3 separate regions of the Homo sapiens genome follow, and all the other regions are linked to region 3. The links are contacts of gene promoters, found by promoter capture Hi-C in human tissues and cell types (Jung and others, 2019). All regions are on one chromosome and are shown on one strand. Each heading gives the region's core, a stretch centred on a gene start or on the middle of the fragment in contact. The rest is flanking DNA. Distances are from core to core; before and after follow the strand shown. Region 1 has its middle 14 kb from the start of DOCK9-DT. Region 2 has its middle 24 kb from the start of LNCARGI. Region 3 holds the start of GPR18 (G protein-coupled receptor 18).

Region 1 (3,245 bases), core at 103-2,602, 160 kb after region 3:
GTGGCATGTGCCTGTAGTCCCATCTAACCAGGAGGCTGAGGAGGGAGGATGTCTTGAGTGCAGGAGGCTGAGGCTGCAGTGAGCCATGATCATGCTACTGCACTGCAGCCTGGGCAACAGCACGAGGCCCTGTCTTAAAAAAAATAAAGAAAAATAATTTAAAATCTATGTGGGTTAAACATGAAATATTGACTTTGGTAAGGAGAACATAAAACTCTAAAAATATTTTTTTTTGTTAAGACACAGGGTCTTGCTCTGTTGCTGATATGGTTTGGCTGTGTCCCCATCCAAATCTCATCTTGAATTGTAGTTACCATAATCCCCACGTGTTGTGGGAGGGACCTGTGGAGGTAATTGAATCATGGGGGTGGTTTCCCTCATGCTGTTCTCGTGATAGTGAGTGAGTGCTCATGAGATCTGATGGTTTTATAAGGGACTTCCTCCTTTGCTCGGCTCTCATTCTTCTCCTTGCTGCCGCCACATGAAGAAGGATGTGTTTGCTTTTCCTTCTGCCATGACCGTAAATTTCCTGAGGCCTCCCCAGCCATGCTGAACTATGAGTCAATTAAACCTCTTTCCTTTATAAATTACCCAGTCTTGGGTATGTCTTTATTAGCGGCGTGAGAATGGACTAATACAGTTGCCCAGGTTGGAGAGCAGTGTCCAGTTCATTACTCACCATAGTCTCAAACTCCTGGGCTCAGGGGATCTTCACATCTCACCCTCCAAAGTAGCTGGGACCACTGGCATGCACCACCATGCCTAGCTAATTTTTTGTTGCTCCGGCTGGTCTCAAACTCCTGGCCTCTAGCAATCCTTCTGCCTTGGCTTCCTAAAGTGCTGGGATTACAGGTGTGAGCCATTGTGCCCGGCCTCCATAAAACTCTTAATTTTCCAATACAATGAGGACATTGATGACAAACTAGGTAATGAATATTGTCAACTTGAGGACTCAGACACAGAAAAACTGAAAGTATCCTAAAATATTACGGCTCATACATAAATTTATTTACTAACAATTTTCCTGAAATTTGACAAAATCCAAGAAAGTTACGAGATGTTACCAACAACTAGTTGCTTTGATAGAAGTAGAAAGAAGCATTTCTAAACTATCAATCATTTTCAAATGTCAATTACCAACGCTTAAGATAATTTTCTTTCTATTCTTGCCAAACAAAATATTACAAAATCACTGTCTTTTTAAGAGGCTATCAGAGTGTCTGCAGACAAAAATTATAAGAAAAAAAGCCTTTTAGAGATGCATGAGAAAATTTGTTTATAAAAATACTATTTTTTAGGATTATGTGATGTTTGTGGTATTAAGTAGCTTAAAAATTATAATTTACATGATTTTTCTTATACTAAATATCTCCTTTTGTACTCTAGTTGATATTTAAAACTCTGTATTTTTTCAAGAGGACCCCTAGAAATTGCATATGATTCAGACCACTTGACACAGGATTTGCCCATTCTTGTAAATTTCTAGGTGTCCTGCCTTAGGAACAGCCCCTCTTCACACTCAAGTGACTTTCATGCTCCCAGCTTTTCTGCTATTCCCTTCTTGGAGATGTATATATATTTATATATATAGTTTTATAATTTTTCTTTTTTTTTTTTTTTTTGAGACGGAGTCTCGCTCTGTCGCCCAGGCTGGAGTGCAGTGGTGCGATCTCGGCTCACTGCAAGCTCCGCCTCCCAGGTTCACGCCATTCTCCTGCCTCAGCTTCCCGAGTAGCTGGGACTACAGGCGCCCACCACTACGCCCAGCTAATTTTTTTTTTTTTTTTTTTTCAGTAAAGACGGGGTTTTACCATGTTAGCCAGGATGGTCTCGATCTCCTGACCTTGTGATCCGCCCGTCTCGGCCTCCCAAAGTGCTGGGGTTACAGGCGTGAGCCACCGTGCCCGGCCTAGTTTTATAATTTTTAATTGTGGCCAATACACATACAATTTGCAACCTTAACTATTTTTTTTTAGTGTGTAGTTAGTGGCATTAAGTACATTCACACTATTTTGGAACCGTCACCACCATCCATCCACACAACTATTTTCATCTTGTAAAACCGAAGCTCTGTACCCATTAAACAACAAGTCTCCATTCTCCTCTCCCTCCAGCCCCTGGAAACCACCATGCTGCTTTCTGTCTCTATGAATTCGACTATTCTAGGCATCCTGTAAAGTGGAATTACATAGTATTTGTCTTTTTATGACTGTTCAATTTTTTTTCTGATTCTTATTTCTTGAACTGTTGAAGATAGCCCCCATCTATTGAAACTTTATATTTTTATTTTTATTACCGTGTTTTCTGGAAAAAATTGTGTGAGTTTTGTTAAATAAATATTTTCCAAAGGAAACTGGTTTTGACTCCTGTTTCACCCAGTCAACTTAGGAAGACATTTGTTTTAAAATCATGTGGAATTTTTGCCCAATTTCTGCTGTATTGGCTCAATGAAAAGATGTATCTACAGTGGAAATAATTGAGAAGAAAGCTTTAGTTACTTCCTCAGACATAGCCTTCTTATCTGTGATGGGGTTTTTTTTGAAACAGAGTCCTGCTCTGTTGCCCAGGCTGGAGTGCAGTGGTGTGATCTTGGCTCACTGCAACCTCTGCCTCTGGGGTTCAAGTGATTCTTGTGCCTGAGCCTCCCAAGTAGCTGGGACCACAGGTGTCTGCCCCCACACCCAGCTAATTTTTGTATTTTTAGTAGAGACAGGGTTTCGCCATGTTGGCCAGGCTGGTCTCTAACTCCTGACCTCAGGTGATCCGCCCACCTTGGCATCTCAAAGTGCTGGGATTATAAGTGTGAGCTACCATGCCAGGCCCTGTGATGATTAATTTTATGCGTCGACTTGACTGGGCCACAGGATGCCAGGAAGCTAGTTAAACATGTTTCTGGGTGTGGTTGTGAGGGTCTCTCTGGAAGAGATGAGTATGTGAATGAGTGAACTGAGGAGAGCAGGTAGCCCGGTGTGGGTCAGTCTCTTGGCCTGACTCTCTGAGTTGGAACATTTGTCTTCCACCCTCAGTGCTACTGTTTCTCAGACCTTCAGACCTGGGTTCAAATCTATACCATTGGCTCTCCTACTTGCAGGCCTTTGAACTACCTCATCAGCTTTTCTGGGTCTCCAGCTTACAGATGGCAGATCATGGGACTGCCTAACAAATTCCATTCTCTCTCTCTATAGATATTTATATATATTTCTGTTTCTCTGTAGAAACTTGACTAATACAACACCCAAGTCCCA
Region 2 (3,474 bases), core at 459-2,958, 150 kb before region 3:
GGCTCACGCCTATAATCCCAGGACTTTGGGAGGCCGAGGCAGGCGAATCACTTGAGGTCAGGAGTCATGGTGAAACCCCATCTCTACTACTTAGGAGGCTGAGGCATGAGAATTGCTTGAACCGAGGAGGTGGAGGTTACAGTGAGCCAGGATCACTCCACTGCACTCCAGCCTGGGCGACAGAGCAAGACTTTGTCTCAAAAAAAGAAAAAGAAAAGCCGAGGTTCAAGAAGGCCAACAGGTCAGCAGATAACTGCCATTGAAGGACAGTTTGCTACTCACAGATCCCAAGAGGAGGGCACGCCCCATCACGCAGGGCCACCGGGGAGACATAGGGTTGGTCAGGAGGTGAAGGGAGCAGGGGAAAATGTGGGCAAGAGTGGTTTTAGGGTACACAGGCTTAAGATTGGGTGGTTTGAATCATTTCAGCAAGCTCTGAGACATGAGGACTGTCCCCATTTGTGTGGTACCTGGCCCTGGGGTGTTTAGGGCAGGTGGATAGTGTCCTGGTGTGTGAGAGCTGTAAATGGAGCCCGTGGAAGCTAAGGACTCTGGATTGGTAGGTTTGCATTTGAAGAACTGAAGAGCGTGTTCATGGGTGAGTTGTTTACTGTCTCTAGGAATTGGCTAACCCGGGAAGGGGCAGTCCCTCCACAGTCAGCAAGGTCCCCAAATGTTAAAGCATCAGAATACAGAAAATAAAAGACGTGGTTAACACATGCAGCTTCTGTCCTGTTTGCTGGGACACTCTCTTTCAGTGCCTCGAGCTGTCGTATCAGAAGTCTGATTACCCTGAGGCTGGCATGCTGGGAGAAGCCATAGGCAGATGCTCCCGTGGACAGCCCCAGCCGAGGTTCCAGCCAGCAGTCAGCTTCAACAGCCACACACGGGAGCAAAGTCGCTTCCAGGAGGCCCCAACCCGTGCCCCAGAGTAACCCCCAGCTGTTGATCCTTTTCAGCAGAGACCTCCAAGATTAGGGAGCAGAGAAAAATCATTCCCACTGTGCCCTCTTCAATATCCTGACCCACAGAATCCACAAACATGATAAAACTATGTTTCCAGTTGCCGTTTTGGGGTAATTTGTTACACAGCCATAGTAACCAGAACAGTATGTTGCACTTCAACAAAAAGCTTACTGAAAAAGACATGTTTTATTATACTTGTGCATGTTGCCTCAGCAAAACTATTCATTATTACAATTCCAGAGGCATAACCCCACAGATACAGTGTTTTTTTTTTCTTTTTTCCTCCCCAGGCAGCCACGTGAGATGGCTTCCGGCACTGCTGGCGTGAGTAGTCTTCCTGGCAATGCCAGCTCTTGCCGTCCTCACCTCCTGGCCCCAGTGGCCCGCATGACGCTCTCTGTTCTACACAGCCCTCCTGGTCTTCAGTGCCCTGGGAAACATCCTTGCCCTTTGCCTTACCTGTCAAAAGAGCAGGAAGATCAACTGCACAGGCATCTACCTGGTGCACCTGGCTGTGTCTGACCTGCTGTTCACCGTGGCCTTACCGGGAAGGGTGGTGTGTTATGTGCTGGGCTCCAGCTGGCCTTTCGGCAAGGGGCTCTGCAGGCTGACGGCGTTTGTGCTCTACACCGACACCTACGGGGGGTCTACCTCATGGCCTGTGTGAGCGTGGACCATTACCCAGCTGTGGTCTGTGCCCACTGGGGCCCGCGCCTCCGCACGGCTGGCCGCGCCAGGCTGGTCTGCGTGGCCATCTGGACCTTGGTGCTGCTGCAGACGATGCCCTTGCTCTTGATGCCCATGACCAAGCCGCTGGTGGGCAAGCTGGCCTGCATGGAGTACAGCAGCATGGAGTCAGTCCTCGGGCTGCCCCTCATGGTCCTGGTGGCCTTTGCCATTGGCTTCTGTGGGCCAGTGGGGATCATCCTGTCCTGCTATATGAAGATCACCTGGAAGCTGTGCAGCACAGCTGGGAGAACCCAGTGACCAGCGGGAAAGGACACCACCGGCGGGGCAGCCCAGGAGGACCCAGTGACCAACAGGAAAGGACGCCACCGGCGGGGCAGCCCAGGAGGACCCAGTGACCAGCGGGAAAGGACACCACCGGCAGGACAGCCCGAGAGGACCCAGTGACCAGCGGGAAAGGACGCCACCGGCGGGACAGCCCGGGAGGACCCAGTGACCAGCAGGAAAGGACGCCACTGGCGAGGCTGCCTGCTTACGCTGCTGATGCTGGTGGCCGTGGTGGTCTGCTTCAGCCCCTACCACCTCAACATCAAGCAGTTCATGGCGAGAGGGATGCTCCACCTGCCATCCTGTGCCGAGCGGAGGGCTTTCTTACTGTCCCTTCAGGCCACCGTGGCCCTCATGAACATGAACTGTGGCATTACCCCATCATTTACTTCTTTGCATCCACCCATTACAGGAAATGGCTCCTGGGCATTTTAAAGCTCAAAGGGTCTTCCTCCTCCTCCTCCTCCTCCTCCTCCACCCCAGGAAAAGCTTCTTCAGAAACACCAAGTATCACCCAGGCCAGAGGTTCTATGTTCTTAGCGGAGCACGTGGTCTAACGTGTCATTTGCTTTATGACTGTATCTAGGGAGGGGTCCAGCGTTGGGGTATTGAAGTTGATACAATTTGGGCAAAAGGTTTTTTAAGGAAAAGAATACAGAATAAGAAATACAAAATTAGGCCGGGCGCGGTGGCTCACGCCTGTAATCCCCGCACTTTGGGAGGCCAAGGTGGGCGGATCACCTGAGGTCAGGAGTTCGAGAGCAGCCTGGCCAACATGGTGAAACCCCATCTCTACTGAAGTACAAAAATTAGCCAGGTGTGATGGTGGGCACCTGTAATCCCAGCTACTCAGGAGGCTGAGGCAGCAGAATCACTTGAACTCGGGAGGCAGAGGATGCAGTAAGCCGAGATCGCACCACTGCACTCCAGCCTGGGCGACAAGAGCAAGACTCCGTCTCAAAACGAAAGAAAGAAAGAAAGAAATACAAAATTAGAGACAGGGTCTTTGAAGGGACAGTGTAAGGATGGAGCCCTGAAGTTTGGACTTCAGTATCCTGACAAACACAGCTCTAATATCTCTTAGTAAATGGTAGTGGAGTTCCTTCGCCCCTAAAGGGGTGTGGGGTGTTTTTTTCCAGGAAAAGTCTATTTTCATGGTAAATGCAGAAGAGCCTGAAAGAAGTGGCTGAGCACTAGATCAGCAATTTAGAGGATGCTTCCCGTTTGGGGGGTGAAATGCTGTAAAGAGCAAGAACACTTCCCCTTCTCTTACAGAGAAACTTCCCAATTCTTAGCCTTAACATTTACTAAAATGTCAAGGTTTTTCTGAAAAACTTGGAAAACACAGGGAGGATGCACAGCCAGGCGCTGAGCTGATGCCTCTGCAGAGGGTCGGGAGGGACTGTGCCAAGTGGGGAAGGGACTTCGTGTGCTTTTGTGTGGTGGTTTGGATCTTGTGCAATGTGAAAGCATTCACGGATGCACGTGTCATTG
Region 3 (3,111 bases), core at 33-2,532:
ATAAAAAACTGATGAATGTGATTCAGCCATAAGAAGTCCTATCTAGTGGACAGATCAATATAATTACCTCATAAGAAGTTATTACAGCGGGAGAAACTGGACCTGGCTTTACCTTGAGTTCTTAAGCAAGTAACTGGCCTTCAATTTCTTCATCCACACAAGAAATAGTTGCTATGGTTGTCTCCAACACTTCTAAAACCCATCATTCTGGCAGGTTGTAACAATCAAAAGTATTTTATCACCAAAGGCAAGGATTTAAGTAACTTTTCTAAGCCACAGATTTACTATGGTTTTGTCTGAGAAAAAAAAAAAAAAGGATGGACCCCAAACTGTCTAAAATTCAAAAAAACAAATACATTTAAGTTCATGAACCCTTTAAAAAGTTGACAAACCATGCATAACCAAACATAAAGATAATTAAAATTTTAGGATAAGCAAATGAGAGATAATTTTTTTTAAGAAATGAGAAAGTAAAACAAAATTAACCTAACAAGGCAGGCAGCGATTCGTTGCTCACTTCCCTTTCTGCTGGTTTCATTTCCCTTCTTAGGTGAAAACACTCTTAATATGTAAATCAGTCCACTAAAGACTTCAGAGTCCTTTCTGCTAAGATTTGCAGAAATTTTTATGCAAAAGAAATTATTTCTAGACTTCCACGCACTAGAAAAGCAGACTTACAAAATACAGCAAACTAAAGTGGATAAATGTATGTGGCAAAGCAGAAGCAATTAATCAAGGATCCTACTTTTAAGCATTTAGAAATGTTTAAATAGTAAAAAGTGGAAATGTGGATATTCTATGATTTTTAATAACTTGGTAGTAAAAAGTGAGACTCCATTTAGGAGTACCTACTAAGTGCCAGGTACTATTAAGCACTTGGGATCTTTCTGGTTTAGGGCCCCTACAATCCTACTGGATATAGTATTATCTCTATTTCAACTGTACAGAAATGAAGTAGGAACAAAGGGTTAGTCAGAGTGGGTAGGTAACTAGACAAAGTCACATAGCTTATAAAGCAAAGAAGCTAGACTTTAAACCCCCTTTTACTCAATATCAAATCTTCTCTTTCCATAGATGATGCAGACTTCAAGCATCAAAGTACACAAACTGAAGAAACTTTATCCTTTGTATATAATTATCTTAAATATATGCCATCATTTCAAGGGGAGCTTATGCTAAGTGTGACTTCATAAACAAATCATTTGTGAAAGAGAAAAACCACATCCAGGGTAAAGTCATAAGGTGAAAAAGCCTATTTCAGAGAGCACTTCCTGAAAGAGACAAAGCAGCAATTAAAGTCAGCCCAGCACCAACTCCGACGCCAAGCGTTACACTGGAAACTACTTTTTAAAGCAACAAAAGAGTCTAAAACAAAATACAACATTTCTTAAATACACTGTTTCCAGAAAGAGCTATTTTAACAGAAGCAACTCAAAGATATCCCTTCGACAGAAGTGGAAGTGCTGAAAAATGCTCATCTCTCACACAGACTTTTGATGGACAGGAGGTAAGCAGCATTTAATTAACTTCATGATTATTGTCAAAAGTAATGCTTTATGTACTGCATTTCAAAAATCATTTCATTTTAATAATACAGGCTGGGCGCAATGGCCCACGCCTGTAACTCCAACACTTTGGGAGGCCAAGGCAGGAGGATCAGTTGTGCCCAGGAGCACCATAGTGAGACCCCGTCTCTATTAAAAAAATATATTTAATTAAAAAAATAAACATAACAAACTATGTTGGTGAAAGACCTTGAAATAGGCTATATAATCATCTTTCCACATTAATATGATTTTACATTTATTTTCAATATTGCTTTACATTAATACTAAATGTAATTTTTTTCAACTTAAGGAAAGAAAATGTTTATGGTAAATCATATGTATATTTAGGAATGTTCATCACATGTTTTCAATTACATTGTTTCATGAAATAACTTAATGGTTTTTAAGAAAAGAAAAGCTACAGATAATCATGGTATCTATAGCTTTTAAAAAGCTGACTTTAAAGTCAATCACTTTTCAATATTTATCCAAAAATTTCTGTGTTTGCAGAGCACAATCAATACTATAATGCCTTTAAAACACATGCATCACTCATTTTTTTTCAAACGTCAGCAAATGAATATAAGTATTGGTGACAAGCTACATAAAAACAGCTTGAGCATAACGTGGGAAAAAAGACTCAAGATGGTTTGTAAGTACAGGACTTATGTCACAAAATTGAAGGATGAGGATAGGTGAAGGGAGTCCTGATGCAATACTAAAAAAAGAAAAACAAATACAAAATTTCATTTATATTATAATTGCTACTATTTAATAAGAATGCATTCCAGTTAAAAATAAGATTTAAGCCTCCAAGATTACTCTCCTTTGAATGACACTAGAGATATAATTTTTCTCTGTAGCACTTTCCTCATTTGATAGAAATTAATATTCTAGTCACACCAATATTTGGAAAATTTAATATGTTTTTAAATATATAGAATTATGCTCCTAAATCATATTTAACCTAAATATTTGAGAAGGAAAGAAGGAGAAGAAGGGAAGAAAGGGAAGGGAAGGGAAGGGAAAGGAAGGAAGGCAGACAGGCACGTTTCTTGTGTTTAACCACAGCAATTGCTCAAGTTAATTCTTAATTATCAATAGCCCGTGATGCCACTGACCACAGACAGCAAATCTCCCCCATAGTTTTCCTTAAAGAGAAATTCTGGGCTGATTTCAAGACAGCCCACTCTGCAAAGTGACATTTTTGAAGGAAACTTTTCATCCACCTCCATATTACAAGGGGATGCCACAGATTCCATCTCATTGCAGCAAAGTCTATTTTTGAAGTCTGTTGTTGGTGTTGCATCATGGGGGAATGAAGTTTCACACTGAGGAGTCAATGATATTTGCAACCCCAAATAACCTCCTTTCCATTTAAAATGGACGGTTTTTTTTTTTTTGGTGATGGAAATTTATAAGTTTCTACATACACATCAAGTTACTGAATGACTTCTTATTAATATCTACTTGTCTTAGATACTCCTTTTTTGGATTTACTTTGAAAATTGTTAAAATTTAAATAATATTGAAGCTTCTGAATCTAGATGGAATGAGGATATGA

Evidence for each region. The method cuts DNA at HindIII sites, captures the fragments that hold promoters and counts their contacts. A contact is called where the count stands out against the background at its distance.
Region 1: a contact is called between a fragment that was not itself captured here and the fragment with the promoter of GPR18 in region 3, in 3 of the 25 tissues and cell types used here (IMR-90 fibroblasts, lymphoblastoid cells and thymus).
Region 2: a fragment that was not itself captured here is called in contact with the fragment with the promoter of GPR18 in region 3 in 4 of the 25 tissues and cell types used here (dorsolateral prefrontal cortex, lymphoblastoid cells, mesenchymal stem cells and 1 more).

The regions. Positions count from the first base shown.
Region 1 is chr13:99,099,199-99,102,443 of GRCh38, reverse strand. No RefSeq gene overlaps it. Among named protein-coding and RNA genes, the nearest start is that of DOCK9-DT, 14 kb to the right of the region's middle. RefSeq lists a silencer at 2,451-2,616. The HindIII fragment of the contact is 7,602 bases long and covers 1-3,245 here.
Region 2 is chr13:99,406,842-99,410,315 of GRCh38, reverse strand. It overlaps the pseudogene CCR12P. Among named protein-coding and RNA genes, the nearest start is that of LNCARGI, 24 kb to the left of the region's middle. The HindIII fragment of the contact is 3,754 bases long and covers 1-3,474 here.
Region 3 is chr13:99,256,550-99,259,660 of GRCh38, reverse strand. It overlaps GPR18 (G protein-coupled receptor 18), which reads left to right and starts at 1,282. Exons shown (of 2, transcript NM_001098200.2): 1 at 1,282-1,507. The region is part of intron 4 of UBAC2 (UBA domain containing 2); the gene reads right to left. LOC124903198 (a long non-coding RNA gene) reads left to right here. Exons shown (of 3, transcript XR_007063846.1): 3 at 1,075-1,222. The HindIII fragment of the contact is 6,968 bases long and covers 1-1,295 here.